2 separate regions of the Homo sapiens genome follow, and region 1 is linked to region 2. Evidence: promoter capture Hi-C in human tissues and cell types (Jung and others, 2019). All regions are on one chromosome and are shown on one strand. Each heading gives the region's core, a stretch centred on a gene start or on the middle of the fragment in contact. The rest is flanking DNA. Distances are from core to core; before and after follow the strand shown.

What was found. The method cuts DNA at HindIII sites, captures the fragments that hold promoters and counts their contacts. A contact is called where the count stands out against the background at its distance.
Region 1: a contact is called between a fragment that was not itself captured here and the fragment with the promoter of BOLA3 in region 2, in 1 of the 25 tissues and cell types used here (adrenal gland).

Annotation. Positions count from the first base shown.
Region 1 is chr2:74,086,625-74,093,692 of GRCh38, reverse strand. It overlaps TET3 (tet methylcytosine dioxygenase 3), which reads right to left. Exons shown (of 12, transcript NM_001287491.2): 7 at 5,655-5,863; 8 at 3,646-3,796; 9 at 702-791; 10 at 27-164. Among named protein-coding and RNA genes, the nearest start is that of BOLA3, 58 kb to the left of the region's middle. The HindIII fragment of the contact is 8,521 bases long and covers 333-7,068 here.
Region 2 is chr2:74,145,051-74,151,721 of GRCh38, reverse strand. It overlaps BOLA3 (bolA family member 3), which reads left to right and starts at 3,810. Exons shown (of 4, transcript NM_212552.3): 1 at 3,810-3,901; 2 at 6,419-6,533. The coding sequence starts at 3,848. BOLA3-DT (BOLA3 divergent transcript) reads right to left here and starts at 3,741. Exons shown (of 3, transcript NR_045636.1): 1 at 3,499-3,741; 2 at 3,244-3,372; 3 at 1-3,024. RefSeq lists an enhancer at 3,397-4,056 and a silencer at 3,590-4,069. The HindIII fragment of the contact is 14,937 bases long and covers 1-6,671 here.

The DNA.
Region 1 (7,068 bases), core at 3,344-5,843, 59 kb after region 2:
GGGGCTATGACAGGGCACAGGCTTACCACGGTGCACCCATTGTAGAGGTTATGCTGGTCCTTGTGGGCGTGGGCACAGAAGTCCATGCAGGCCGTGACCCCCGCGAAGGGCCGTCCTTCCTTCAGCCCCAGACGGCAGTCAATCGCTATTTCCTCGTTGGTCACCTGTGTAGACAGCCAAGGAGAGGTGCTCACATGACCTGAGGTGAGTGGCCCCGATTCTGCACCTGGGGAGGCCAGGTCTTGGAAGGAGGGATGTTAAGGATGATAGTCACCTTGCCCTTCGACTGCAGGAGGGAGGTTTTCTGGCTGAGAGGCCCCAGCTACAAAAAAGTTACTTTCAGTCTCCTGTAGGAATTACTTCCTTCTGGGTTATCCCAAGTCCCCTTGCCTTGTCTAGGAGATACAAGGGTGACAGGTGAGAGAAACTCGGGCCTCACCAGTGGATACCAGACCAGAGGAGGTGGATGGGTTACCAGGGGAAGGGAGAAGACCAGGATAGAAGAGGGACGGTGTGGGATGCAGGTAGCCTGGTGTAAAAAAGGGGTTTTTATCAAAGAACCACATCATATCGCTTTACTTCTGGACTAGGCTCTTCCCATAAGAGAGTAAAAGAGCCCACTCTCCCACTTCCCACCTTCAGAGCCTGAGCAGAGATGTGGACGGTGACATGTGGGCAGCAAAAGGCCCAGGGCCCGTTACCTGGTTCTGATAGGCCTGAGGGGCCAGTCGCTTGTACAGGGGAGCGACTTCGGTGGCCAGGTCCTGGAAACTCTTCCGGAGCACTTCTTCCTGCAGAGAGAGGGGCAGTCACACATCCAGAGCAGCCCCGCCTGGCAGACCCTGCACCCTGGAAGTGGACTGGCATTCCTGAAGCATCGTGGGGGAGGCTGGGAGGGAGGTGTTATCAGGTGTCTTTCTGGCCTTTCCTTCAGGAGGGCTGTGGTGCTGTGTCCACTTCACAGCTGGGGACACTGAGGCTCCCAGGAAAAGCTGTGGAAGCCACGGCCTGAAGGTCTAGTCATCCTGACTGCTAAACTACTGCTCCTTCAGGCTCCCGCCCAGTTCAGCCCAGAACATATCAAACGTTTCTTGCTTTCGAGTGCTGAACACCGTAGGTCAGAGGTGCGGCACAGTGGGACTGAAAAAGCCAAGAGCAACAACTGTGGATCTTTCCTCCCAGGCTACAGACAGGAAGAGAAAGGCAGGCAGGATCCATGCTAGAAATTCCACAGCCAGCCCAGCCCAGCCCAGCCCAGCCCAGAGCCTGTCATAAGCCAGGAATACAGACAGACTTCAAAGCTCCAGCTGCTAGACTCGTACTACGTAATGTTATTCACAAACCACATGAAGCTACAGAAATACAGATGAATTCTAATTTTTTTTTTTCTTTGAGACAGAGGCTCACTCTGTCACCCAGGCTGGGGTGCAGTGGCATTATCTTGGCTCACTGCAACCTCCATCTCCTGGGTTCAAGCAATTCTCCTGCCTCAGCCTCCTGAGTAGCTGGGATTAGAGGTGCCCACAGCCGGCTAATTTCTTTTATATTTTTAGTAGAGATGGGGTTTTGCCGTGTTGGCCAGGCTGGTCTCAAACTCCTGACCTCAGGTGATCCAACCACCTTGGCCTCCCAAAGTGCTAGGATTACAGGCGTGAGCCACAATGCCCGGCCTGAATTCTAATAAAAATTAAAGCAATTCAGTCCCTTGGTTGCACTAGTCCCATTTTAAATACTCAGCAGCTACACGTGGCTCCTGTATGGACAGCAGAGAATGTTTCCACACATCACAGAAAGTACTGTGGGACAGCACTGCTCTATGTGAAGCAGCAGCCCCTGGTGACATGTGGCAGAGAGTTCCAGGTATCCACAGCCTCTGTCTGGCCCTCCGAAAACAAGCAGGGCTTGAAGGGCTCCTAGGACACCACGAGCACAGGCACAAAGGGTTTATGAAGAAGAAAGCAGGAAGAGAGGAAAGAGAAAAAGAACCAAGCACACAGAATGAGAAATGGAAGGTGGAGACCCACAGCTCAGCTGTACATCCAGTGGGGTCGCCAGGGCTGCCAGCCACTCTTGACCAGGCCAGCCTGGGCCAGTGATGCCAGGCCACCTCCCTGCCTGATGTCCAGATGCTGCCACCAGCACAGCAGGGGGTGAGGCTTGTGAGCTCTAGGGACACACAGGCCTGAGTTTCAAACCTGCCTTCACCATGAACTAGCCACATGGGCTTAAGGAAGCCATCTGCCTCATCTGTAAAGTGAGGGGTAACAGTGCCTAGATCACTGGGATGGAGGGGTCGTGAAATCATCTGAGAAACCTATGAGGGGCTTGGCAAAGTGCTTAGCACATCGTAAGAGCACAGGAAGTGGCAGTTGGTAGAACAGGGAAAGAATTTGAGAGAAATTAAGCCAATGTCTTTCCATTCCTAGTAGTTCTTAGGTCCTGGTAGCCCCAGGGCTCCATTCATTGAAGCAACCACATCTGCTGCTTGTAAGGGAGGGTGAATCTTACCGTAAATAAAAATCTAATAACAAATTAGACTATTTGCATACAGGTCTATTAGACTATTTAAGTCTAAAAGCCAGGTCTGGGGTAAACAAAGAGTTCTGAATTTGAAAATGCTTCCTTTTTCTTATGAGGACCCAAGCTTGGCAGTCAGAGCACAGAAGGTGACATAGGCTTTGGTGTAGAGAGGGTGTCCCTGCACCACGGGAAGTGGGAAGCCCTTCTGGTACTAGGAGCTTGGAGAGATTTGGAAGGTTGCAACTTGAGTTCACGTATTTGGATATTTGTCTGTATCCTAGCAAAGGAAGCCAGCACTCCACCCGCTCAGGAGCCCAGGCAGAAGGAAGGTAAAATGGCAGACAACCTGGATAGGCTTGTGCCTTCCTTGCATTTGGAGCTGAGTGGAGACCGCCTCTCAGGAGGGCCTTTGCCATGCAGGCATCAGAGGACAAACAACAGAGGGGAGGCGGCCTGAGCAGATGCTCCGGCCCCCACAGCCTGAGGGCGCCTTCCCCTGCTGTCTTGGGGCTGGGGGAGGCCCTGCAGGGCAGGGGTCTGGGTAAGGAGCCTACAGAGAGAAGGTGCCGTGCCTAGCGGTCATACTGTATGGACACCAGTCCAGAGCCCAGGGACCAGGCCAGGCCCCCAGCATGGAGACTGCAAGGGCCCGGATGACTGCCCAGAGACATCTGTCCGGCAGCCAGGCAGGGTGGGAGATACCTTGGGAAGTACAGCAAAGGCCCAGAGGATGGCCCACATGCGGGAGACCGCCTTTCCTGCTAAACCTCACACCTAGAAAGGTGTCCTGGGAAGATGGGGGGGAGAAATGACCTCTGAGAGGGCCAAATTCTGACAAGCGATTTGAATATGTATCTTCGATATTTGGAGTATTTACCTAAAAGAGATGGTTTACATGGGAAGAGCCTGGGGCACCCGTAACTGCTAAGTCTAATTTTTCACACTTGGTGCCCTCCACACACCCCTTATTTCACAGCAAGATAAGGTCAGCTTTTAAAAAAACGAAAACAAGTTCCACTTCCTGTGCATCTGAGTCATGGCGTGCCAGTACTACCTCCCGCTGGACCATGAAGGACGCCAGGCGAGAAAGGATGGGAGGCAGGGTCCCCGCCCAGCTCTGCTCACCTCTTTGGGATTGTCCCCTGCGAGGCGGAACTTGCGAGGTGTCTTGCTCCGAGCATACTTGCAGCCGTTGAAGTACATGCTCCAGGAACAACCAAAGGAGAAGGAGGCACCACAGGTGTTGGGGTCTTTGCCTTGGCAAGCGCAGGTCCGGCTGCAACACACAGCACAGGTCAGGGATATAGATGCAATATCCCTTCGTTCTGGAGTATTCCTCCTCCCTCAAGGGGTGGCCCTGCTGAGCCCTGGCACCCACCAGCCTCCCAGTGACTGAGACTCATCCTTCCCCACCCCCAACCCCTTTCTCAAGTTTCCTTGAGTAGGAAGCCAGATCTAAGCAGCCTCTGCTGCCTGCACCACTGCGAGCCTGCAGGTCTAACACTGAGTCTGTTGCTGGGAGTAGCACATGGGTTTACGGAAGTAAGGGGGAAGAATCTGGTAAAAACCCATTAACGTTTATACTTTCCCTTAACTTAATATCTTAACCAGCTCCAGGACAGGCCATATGAACAGGGAAATGATGTGAGCCCCAGGGTTTGAACGTGTCTATTTCCTATAGCCCAGATGCTAACAGGCCTTTCAACAAAGTATACTGAGATGAAAATTAACGCTTAATACAATCTGGAAACAACCCAAGTGCCCCTAACTGGGGGATGGATAAGCAAACTATGATAGATCCACACAGTGGATTACGACTCATTGATAAAAAGGAACGAGCTACTGACACACACGTCAACACAGATGAACACTGAAAACACTATGTTCAATGGAAGAAGCCAGACTCAGAAAGCTACACCCTGTATGATCCCATTTATGTGACATTCTCACAGAGGTAAACCTACAGGAACAGGAAACAAGACCGGTGACTGCCCAGGGCTAGGGGAGGGCTTGCTTATAAAGGGCATGCATGGGGCACTTCGGGGGGAAGATGGAACTGTTCTATGTCTTTTTTTTTTTTTTTTTTTTTTTTGAGACGGAATCCTGTTCTGTTGCTCAGGCTGGAGTGCAATGGCACGATCTTGGCTCACTGCAACCTCTGCCTCCTGGGTGAAAGTGATTCTCATGCCTCAGCCTCCTTAGTAGCTGGGATTACAGGCATGTGTCACCACACCTGGCTAATTTTTATATTTTTAGTAAAGACAGGGTTTCGCCATGATGGCCAGGCTCGTCTCGAATTCCTGGCCTCAGGCGATCCACCCGCCTTGGCCTCCCAAAGTGCTGCGACCACAGGCATGAGCCACCATGCCCAGCCCTGTTGCATATCTTAATTGTGGTGGTGGTAGGTACGTGACTGTAAACATTTGTCAAAACTATATACCTAAGAGGATGAATTTTATTGTAAATAAATATACCTTCATTTTTAAAAATGGGAAAAACTCTGATAAGGGCAGGGTTTTTTTGTTTTTGTTTTTGAGACAGAGTCTCACTGTTGCCCAGGCTGGAGTGCAGTGGTGCAATCTCAGCTCACTGCAACTTCCGCCGCCCGAGTTCAAGCGATTCTTCTGTCTCAGCCTCCCGAGTAGCTGGGACTACAGGTGTGTGCCACCACGCCTGACTAATTTTTTTATTTTTAGTAGAGATGGGGTTTCACCGTATTGGCCAGGCTGGTCTCAAACTCCTGACCTTATGATCCACCCACTTCGGCCTCCCAAAGTGCTGGGATTATAGGCATGGACCACGCCTGGCCAAGGGCAGGTTTTGTAAATATCTTCGATACCTTCTATTTATGGGGCACATGTACTTCACACTCGCTAATATCATTAGTGCCAGTGTTATCGACCTGGGGTTTAACGGTGAAGTCAAACTAGTAGACCCTCTGGAGCCAGAGCTAGAACCCAGCTCAAGCAAGATCTGTGGATATGCCTTCCTCAACCACAGTCCTAACTGTGCAGGACAAACAGTGCCGCAGAGAGGGCCCCTAGGAGCCTTCCCCAGGGTTGCCTGCAGTCTCCTGTATTTGCTGCCCAGGACCCTATAGGTGGGCCCTGGCCCTGAAGCCCTCTGCTACATACTCATCGTTGAGGCCGCATCTCCGGCTGGTGGGGTTCCCATACTTCCGGAGGGTGTCGGTGAGCTCCTGGTAGAGGGTGTCTCCGAGGCTACGGGGAATGCCCTCCCAGGCCAGGATGAGGATGACGATCACAGCGTTCTGGCAGTGGTGGCCTGCCCGGTGCCGCACCAGGCAGAGTAGCTTCTCCTCCAGCGTGTGCCTGCGGATCACCTGCAGGGACGCAGGGTGTGAGGGGCAGGAGCCAGGTACCCGTGCTCCTCTGCATGGTGCCACCCCTCCCTTTGTCACACAGACCCAGGGTGCAGGTCTTAACGGCAGGGTTCTAGGGATGTCATGCCCTGAAGACAGCAACCTTACAAGCTAAGAGACCATTATTAGGGAACAAATAGGGAACATTATTAGGAACAAATGTTTTGTTAGGGAACAAAAACATAAAAGTTATTTTGAGAGTGAAATAAAAAATAATTACCACAAAATCTAAGTTGCTGATGACTTACATAGGCTTAGGAGTAAAAATACACAGATAAAAATTGTAAGCCAAAATACAGTCAGATTTTTATGTTATCCTAAAACATTTGCAGAGAAAATGCTGCCTACCTGTGTGTTTTTAGTTAACATGCAAGGGGCTTGGCACTGTGGAAAACAGTCTGGCAATGCCTCCAAAAGCTAAACATAGGATTACCATATGATCCAGCAATTCCATGCCTAGGAATACACTCGAGGGACTGAGAGCAGGACTCAGGCAGATCCCTGAATACCCACGTTCACTGCAGCACTATTCACAACAGCCAAAAGGTGGAAGCACCCCCAGGGTCCATCGGTTGATGAACAGGTAAGTACGACGTGGTATAGACAGACAACCAAGTATTACTCAGCCTTAAAGAGAAACAAAATTCTGATCCATGTTACAACATGGATGAACCCCAAAAACATGCTATGTGAAATAAGCCAGACACAAAAGGACACATAGTACATGATTCCACTGACATGAGACACCCAGAACAGTTCCATTCAGAGAGACAGAAAGTAGATTAGAGCTTACGAGGGCCTGGGAAAGGGGAGAATGGAGAATTATTGTTAATGGGTGCAGAGTTTCAGTACAGGATGTTGAAAAAGTTCTGGAAATAGACTAGGTTGATGCTTGTACAACAACGTGAATGTACTTAATGCCACCAACCTGTACACTGAAAAATGGTTAAAATGTTAGATTTTATTTCTACACAAACTTTTTTTTTTTTTTTTTTTTTTAGAGTCAGGGTCTTACTCTGTTGCCCAGGCTGGAGTACAGTGGCATGATCATAGCTCACTGCAGCTTCAAACTCCTGGGCTTAAGCGATCCTCCCACTTCAGCCTTCTTGAGTACCCGGGACTACAGACACACGCCACCATGCCTGGCTAACTTTTTAAAATTTTTT
Region 2 (6,671 bases), core at 2,561-5,060:
CTTCTCTGACAAATACCCCATTGATGTCCCCACTAGGTATGGACATTACAGCCTGCACTGTCCCCACTTAGGTGTGGACACTAGTCTGCACCTTTATCGCTGGCCACTAGATGCCAGTCTGCCACAACACCTCAAAAGCTAGCTACCTTTTTAGCTTTTTACTGGAGTCCTTTAGTAGGTTATCTCATTTAATCCATAAAGCAACCTGGAGAAAGTGACTGCAATTAAGAGGTATGCCAGAAATATTTCAGTATTCTTTAGACCATGCCACATAAGCTCAGACAAGTTCAAATAGCTAGTATATAGCAAGTCTGTTTCTCTGGATTGCATTTGCAAAAATTCTGCATGCTCAGCAGTGCTAGGAAGCTCTATAAAATGATGGTGCAACGAAAAATCATCCCAATGAGGTTAAAAAAGGAGATGCATCCAAAGAGTTCCTACCTAATGAATTTTCTGAGTTTCAGATGTATATATGTGTATGAAAGCTATGAGTGATCATGGACCAATACAACTGAAGAGAACAAGAGAATCTCGAGGTCACAGCAAAAAAAAGTAAGATGCAGAAAGGATTGACATTTCCTGGGACTAAATGCATTTCACTTTTGTTTTAATCACAAAGTAAAACTTACTTATTTGCTTCTGTCAAAAAAAAAAAAAAATACTAGAACTGTTGGAACTAATTTGGAAGCCCAAGATTCGTCAGATCGTCCTGCAAATCCTTTTCTAGAAAAGTTCAAACTTAGACCTATGGAGCGCAAATTGCTGAGCCTCTATCAGTTCTGTTCAGTAATTACAATGCATGCACTTTTTGTCCCATATTGGGCTGCTGACAGATGACTCAAGCAAGGCTCTGTCCTCAGGGAGCTTATAAACCAGTGAGAACAGACACATACATAAATTGATAGTTGTAAAAGGCCATAAGTGCAACAAAAGTTACAGGTAAGTTGCGGGCCCTAAGCTTACTGTGAGGCAGTCAGAGGTGGCTCTTTGGAGAAGACAAGGCTTGAACCTTAAAAGGTGGGCAACTGCATAACCAAACTTGTAGCATAGCTTATGAAGGGAGGTGCAAGTATAATATTACTGAAGGGTAGATTTCAGTTGGACAGGTAGATAGTGGTTAAATCATACAAAAGAACTTGAGAGTTTTGCCTGTAGGTAGGCGATGGGGAATCTGAAGGATTTCAAGTAGCAAATGTTTTCATTTCATTTTATTTTATTTATGTTTTTTAGACAAAGTCTCACTCTGTCGCCCAGGCTAGAGTGCAGTGGCTCAATCTCGGCTCACTGCAACCCCTGCCTCCTAGGTTCAAGCGATTCTCCTGCCTCAGCCTCCCAAGTAGCTGGGAGTAGAGGCATGTGCCACCATGTCTGGATAATTTTTGTATTTTTAGTAGAGATGGGGTTTCACCATGTTGACCAGGGTGGTCTTGAACTCCTGACCTCAGCTGATCCGCCTGCCTCAGCCTCCCAAAGTGCTGGGATTACAGGCATGAACCACTATGCCCGGCCTAAATGTTTTCATTTCAGATGGCTCTGACAGCCTAGGAGGAACTGAAGATAAGAGGAGGAGAATGGGGCAGAGAGTAGCTCAGAGTAACAGATAGTATGGGCAACTGTTAAATTATGGGGAAGAGGAAGGTTAGAGATAAGCAAAAGTACCTTTTTTTTTTTTTTTTTTGAGACAAAAAGCTGGTAGAAAGGCCACCGCAGCCAGCTAATGGTTTGTATTTTTAGTAGAGATGGGGTTTCGCCAATGTTGGCCAGGCTGTTCTCGAACTTCTGACCTTGGGTGATCAGTGCGCCTCGGCCTCCCAAAGTCTTTGGATTACAGGTGTGAACCACCTTGCCTGGCCAAAAGTACCATTTTAAATAAAGAAAAGGAGGAATTCTGCCAATACAAATCTGTGAGCTTGCCATGGGTCACTTGGTTACAAGTGACAAACCCATTAAACTGCCTTCAGTGCTCATTTCCAGCATTGCTGGTTTCCAGCTGTACAAAGTCAAACATTTGTCTCCTTTTATCTGTTTTCTTCTTTATCTTGCTTCATTTCCAAAGTAGTTCTCCCTGCATGGTTGCAAAGATGGTTGCCAGCAACTCCAGCCTTTCTACCAGCTTAGCAACATAGAGGAAAAAGATCAATGTCTGGGAACAACAGACACTGGGGAATACAAGACTGGGGAAGGAGGAAGGGGGCAAGGGTTGAAACTACCTATTGGGTACTATGCTCATTACCTGAAGGACGGATTCGTTCATACTCCAAACCTCAGCACCATGCAATATACCTCTGTAACAAGCCTGCATATATACCCCCGATTCTAAAATAGAAGTTGCAAAAGGAAGTCCCTCTACCAATTCTCATTGGTCTGGCTCAGACCATGGGGCCGACCCTAAACCAGTCTCTGATTAGCCAGACTTGGGTCCTGTTTCCATTCCTAAAGCTGGGGATAGGTGCGCCTCATCTAAACCATGCTGTCTGAATAGCAAGGGAATGGTTCACCATTACTACCCTGCTTGAGAAAAAATTTTTTTGACAGTTTAAATTGCATCATTGACAGCAATGAAGAAAACTTAGCAAATCATCTCTAAACATTTTAAAAGAATGAAGCAGAAAATGTAAGACAGGCTAGTAATTGATCCAAAGGAGAAATTCTGAAGGCCAGAACATAGGAGTCAGTTAATACTGTAATAAATAAATTAGACAATATCCATATATAACAACTATAGGTCCAATCCATCCAAGTGCAACGCTGAAGGGACGTATTGATTGCATAGGCCAGAATGTTGGCAAAAAGCTGGTAAATCCTGCAGGGTGCCACCAGACCGCGTGCTGCAAACAAATAACAGCTAGAGAGAGGAGAGGCTTGGTTGAATTTCGGCCTTGACTGGTCTGAAGACTCCAGAGGCGGGACGAATTTGCGGACAGTTCTACCCCATCCCACATGGCGTCAGCTTCCCTTCCATTCTCATGACTCCATGGTCCATGGCTCCAACCTGGGCCTCTGTTAGGCTGTGTCCTGTGGCACCTTAAACTCAGGCAAATTAAGAACTGTTCGTGGACTCTGCTCAGCCCCCACCTAACCCTCCATCCAAGTCATTGTCCAAGCCAGAAACTGGAGTCATCTCAGATACCTTCCCACTCACACCTCCACATGCAGTCGCTCGATTCCATTCACCTCCCAAGTGTCTCAGTTCATTCTTCCATCCCTCCCGCCACTGGTTTAGTTAGGCCCCTCCATTCTCACCTGGACCATCGCGGTAGCCTCGGAGCTTCTGACTGTGTCTCTGGTTGCAGCCCCTACACGCTCTCTTCCTTACAGGAGCGGAGCGATCTTTCTCAAGCGCGAATCAAATCCTTCCACGAGTCCCCGCACCTGGAGCGAAGGCCAAACTCCTCAGCTTAGAAGCTAGACTGCCAGAGTAGGGAGTGGGAATGGAAAAGTACATCAGGAGCACGAGGGGTATTCGGATGAGGGAAGGCCAGTATAGGGCGCCGAGACCTTGGAGTGTTTCTGAGCTGAGGAGGAATGAGACTTTCACGCGGGCAAGGGGACCCTATCCATGAAACAGGCCCTGGGGAGACTGAAGGAGAGCGGCGCGAGCGAAGGCAGAGGGCGGGGCCCCGAGGTCGGCAGGCGCTGCAGTGTCGGGGGTGGCGAGTCAGCCAGGGCCAGGGGATGGCGGGGTGGGGCCGGAGCCAGGCGACCGGAGGCCTCCGGGGCGGGGCCGGGAGGCTGACGGCCTCCGGGCGGCAGGGGGCGGCCTCTCCCACGGCGGCGGCTCTCGGTCCCCCGCTCCGCGTCTTTCGGGCATACAGTGACCTCGGGCGGCGGGTCACGTCGGCCGGGCATGGCTGCATGGAGCCCGGCCGCGGCAGCGCCTCTCCTCCGCGGGATCCGCGGGGTGAGCGTGGGCAGGGTCGGGGCTGCTCTCCCCGGGACGGGAGCTGCGGAGGGACCGCGGGGCCGGCGGCTGTCGGGGCTTGAGGACTGGCTCCCGGAGGGCGCGCGCGGCACTGGCAATGGGGGGCTCCTCTTCCTTTCTCTCATTCATTCTTTCATTCATTCATTCACTCAGCGACAACGGCATTCGAAATTTCAAGCTCTGGCGCGCTCTAGGGGAGCTCCCGAGCTGGGTGGAGGTTGGAGGTCAGGCGGACAGACACATGAACAGTCATAATACTGCGGGCACAGGAAAAAAAAAGGATTGGTTTACCGAGCAGAAGACAGGAGTCATAGCCCAGAGTCAAGGCGTGGGTGCGAGGGACTGCAGCGGGGCCGGGGCCTTGGGAAGGTCGACTGGGCCTCTGACCTTGATCCTCCTCCAAATCCCACACTACCGGAGCAGAACCCAAGCAGGGGGCACTTCCCACGCGCTCTCCTAATCTCTCCCCCTTTCTGAACCATCCTTTGCTTCAGCTCATACCATTCTTTCTCTTAACTTTCATTTTCCTTCTCCCCTGGTTCTGAACCTGCCTGCCCTGTGCATGAAGAGAAGTTCTTCCACTGCGGTGACTTTCAGCGTGGACAGTGATCATCTGGGGATGTCAGTTGATTGTTCCACTAAAGGCCGCTGCCCACAGATCCGCTAAGATGAAAGGCTTCTCCCAAGGATTCTGCAACGCTCACCTCTCTCACCCCTTAGTAGCTGCCGATTCTGTCTGCCATCTGGTTACTCTCTGCCTTTACCCTCAAGATTCTGCCCCCAGAAGCAGCTCCACCCCACCCTCACTCCTGGCAATCCTGTCCAGCCTCTCAACATCGAGTTTCTGTCCCTCCACACAGCAGGCAGACAATCACACTCTGGACCTTTCTCCTGTCTTGCATTTCTGTCCCTAATTGACTAGTTCTTCCCCTGCTCATTCATTCATCCAGCACCAAGTGCCTCTGAGGGCCTGCCCTGGGGTCAGCTCTGGGATGCTGCCGGACTCATTCCTGGCCTATAAGACCAGTGGTGAGAGAGCCAGTGCACAGCTCATTTTAAAGGAGGTGCTCTGAGATTCTGTGACACAGGACCCTGCTCTGAGCTATCAGGAAGGACTGAGGGGTAGAGGGGTGGGACCTTCAGCACCAGCACCCATGAACGGCCCTAGTGTCCTCCAACCTGTCATCCACGTCTAGTCAGGGACCAGTGCCCGGTGCTTCCATCATTGTAATGCCTCTTACTTGGGCATCTCTCCTGACTCGCTCCAGAAGGCACTGTTTCCTGCAGGTTACTTTGGTCCCATGAGCCTGGGTTCTATCACCTGGAGTCCCATCTCCTGTCCCATACAGTCCACAATCTTTAGCCTGGCATTCAAGGCCTGCCACACTCCATTCCCAGTCTGCCTTTTCAGCATGCACTCAGCCCAGCCAAGTGACTGCCGACCTGCTTTTCTGCTCCTTCACTACTAACTGTTGAGACGTGTTCCATCAGAAACATGGGCTCCCCTGGCCGGGCGTGGTGGCTCATGCCTGTAATCCTAGAATTTTGGGAGGTTGAGGTGGGTGGATCACCTGAGGTCAGGGGTTTGAGACCAGCCTGGCCAACATGGTGAAACCTCATCTCTACTAAAAATACAAAAATTTGCCGAGCGTGGTGGTGGGTGCCTGGAATCCCAGCTACTCAGGAGGCTGGGGCAGGAGAATCGCTTGAACCCGGGAGGTGGAAGTTGCAGTGAGCTGAGATTGTGCCACTGCACTCCAGCCTGGGTAACAGAGCAAAACTCTGTCTCAAAAAAAAAAAAAAAGGAAACACAAACACAGGTTCCCCCATGGTAGCCATTGGGGAAGGGGTGTTGTTGCCAATGGTAAACAACCTACAGATACTCCTTCTTCAGGTTCTTTCATAGAATTCTGACTTTGCTCCCAGTGAGAAGGAGTGCATGATGAAGGATAGCTGGCTAATTGAGCAGTGGGCTGTGAGGTCACATCCCACTGGGGAGGGCGAGACATGTTAATCAGGCCTAAAGGCGAGGGAGTGTGGAATTTGGCCCCACCATCCAGGGCAGTGGATGGCCTAGTGGTATGGATCTGAGGCAGGCTATCCAGCTTTTCTGGCTCTGTATCTTACCGAATTCAACCTTGGGCACATTACTGTGTGCCTCAGTTTCCTTACCTATAAAACTATCGGCATAATAGTGTCACAACATTATATGGAAGCAAACATCTCTTGAATTAGGTTTGGGGCCTCTTGTCTCTGGAGTCAAATTGAGTTATTAACAATCATCCTGTCCCCGCCAATAAAAGTTTATTCTGTGTTTTGGGGCACTTACATGGACTCCTGATACCACAGAGCCCCTCTGACATAACCCATGGCTGTGCTGGCGAGGGCTCAGGGGCCTGCCTTGCAGGGGGAATGGCAGGCGGGCCTGCACAGTGGCCCAGCTCAGGGGCAACAGCATCTTCCTCTGCCCTGACCTTCCTCTCTGTTCTGTGGCAGCTTCCACTTCACCATCGGATGTTTGCCACTCAGACTGAGGGGGAGCTCAGAGTGACCCAAATTCTCAAAGAAAAGTTTCCACGAGCTACAGCTATAAAAGTCACTGACATTTCAGGTAAGGTTTCTCTCACTCTTCCTACGGCGCTTGGATAAGATTTTGCCCTTTGGAAGGACAGAGGGTCAGGGGCTTGGAGGAGGGGGCTTGCTGCTGGTGAGTGGCTTCTCAAGATGTGTTGCTGCTGGACAGGTGGAG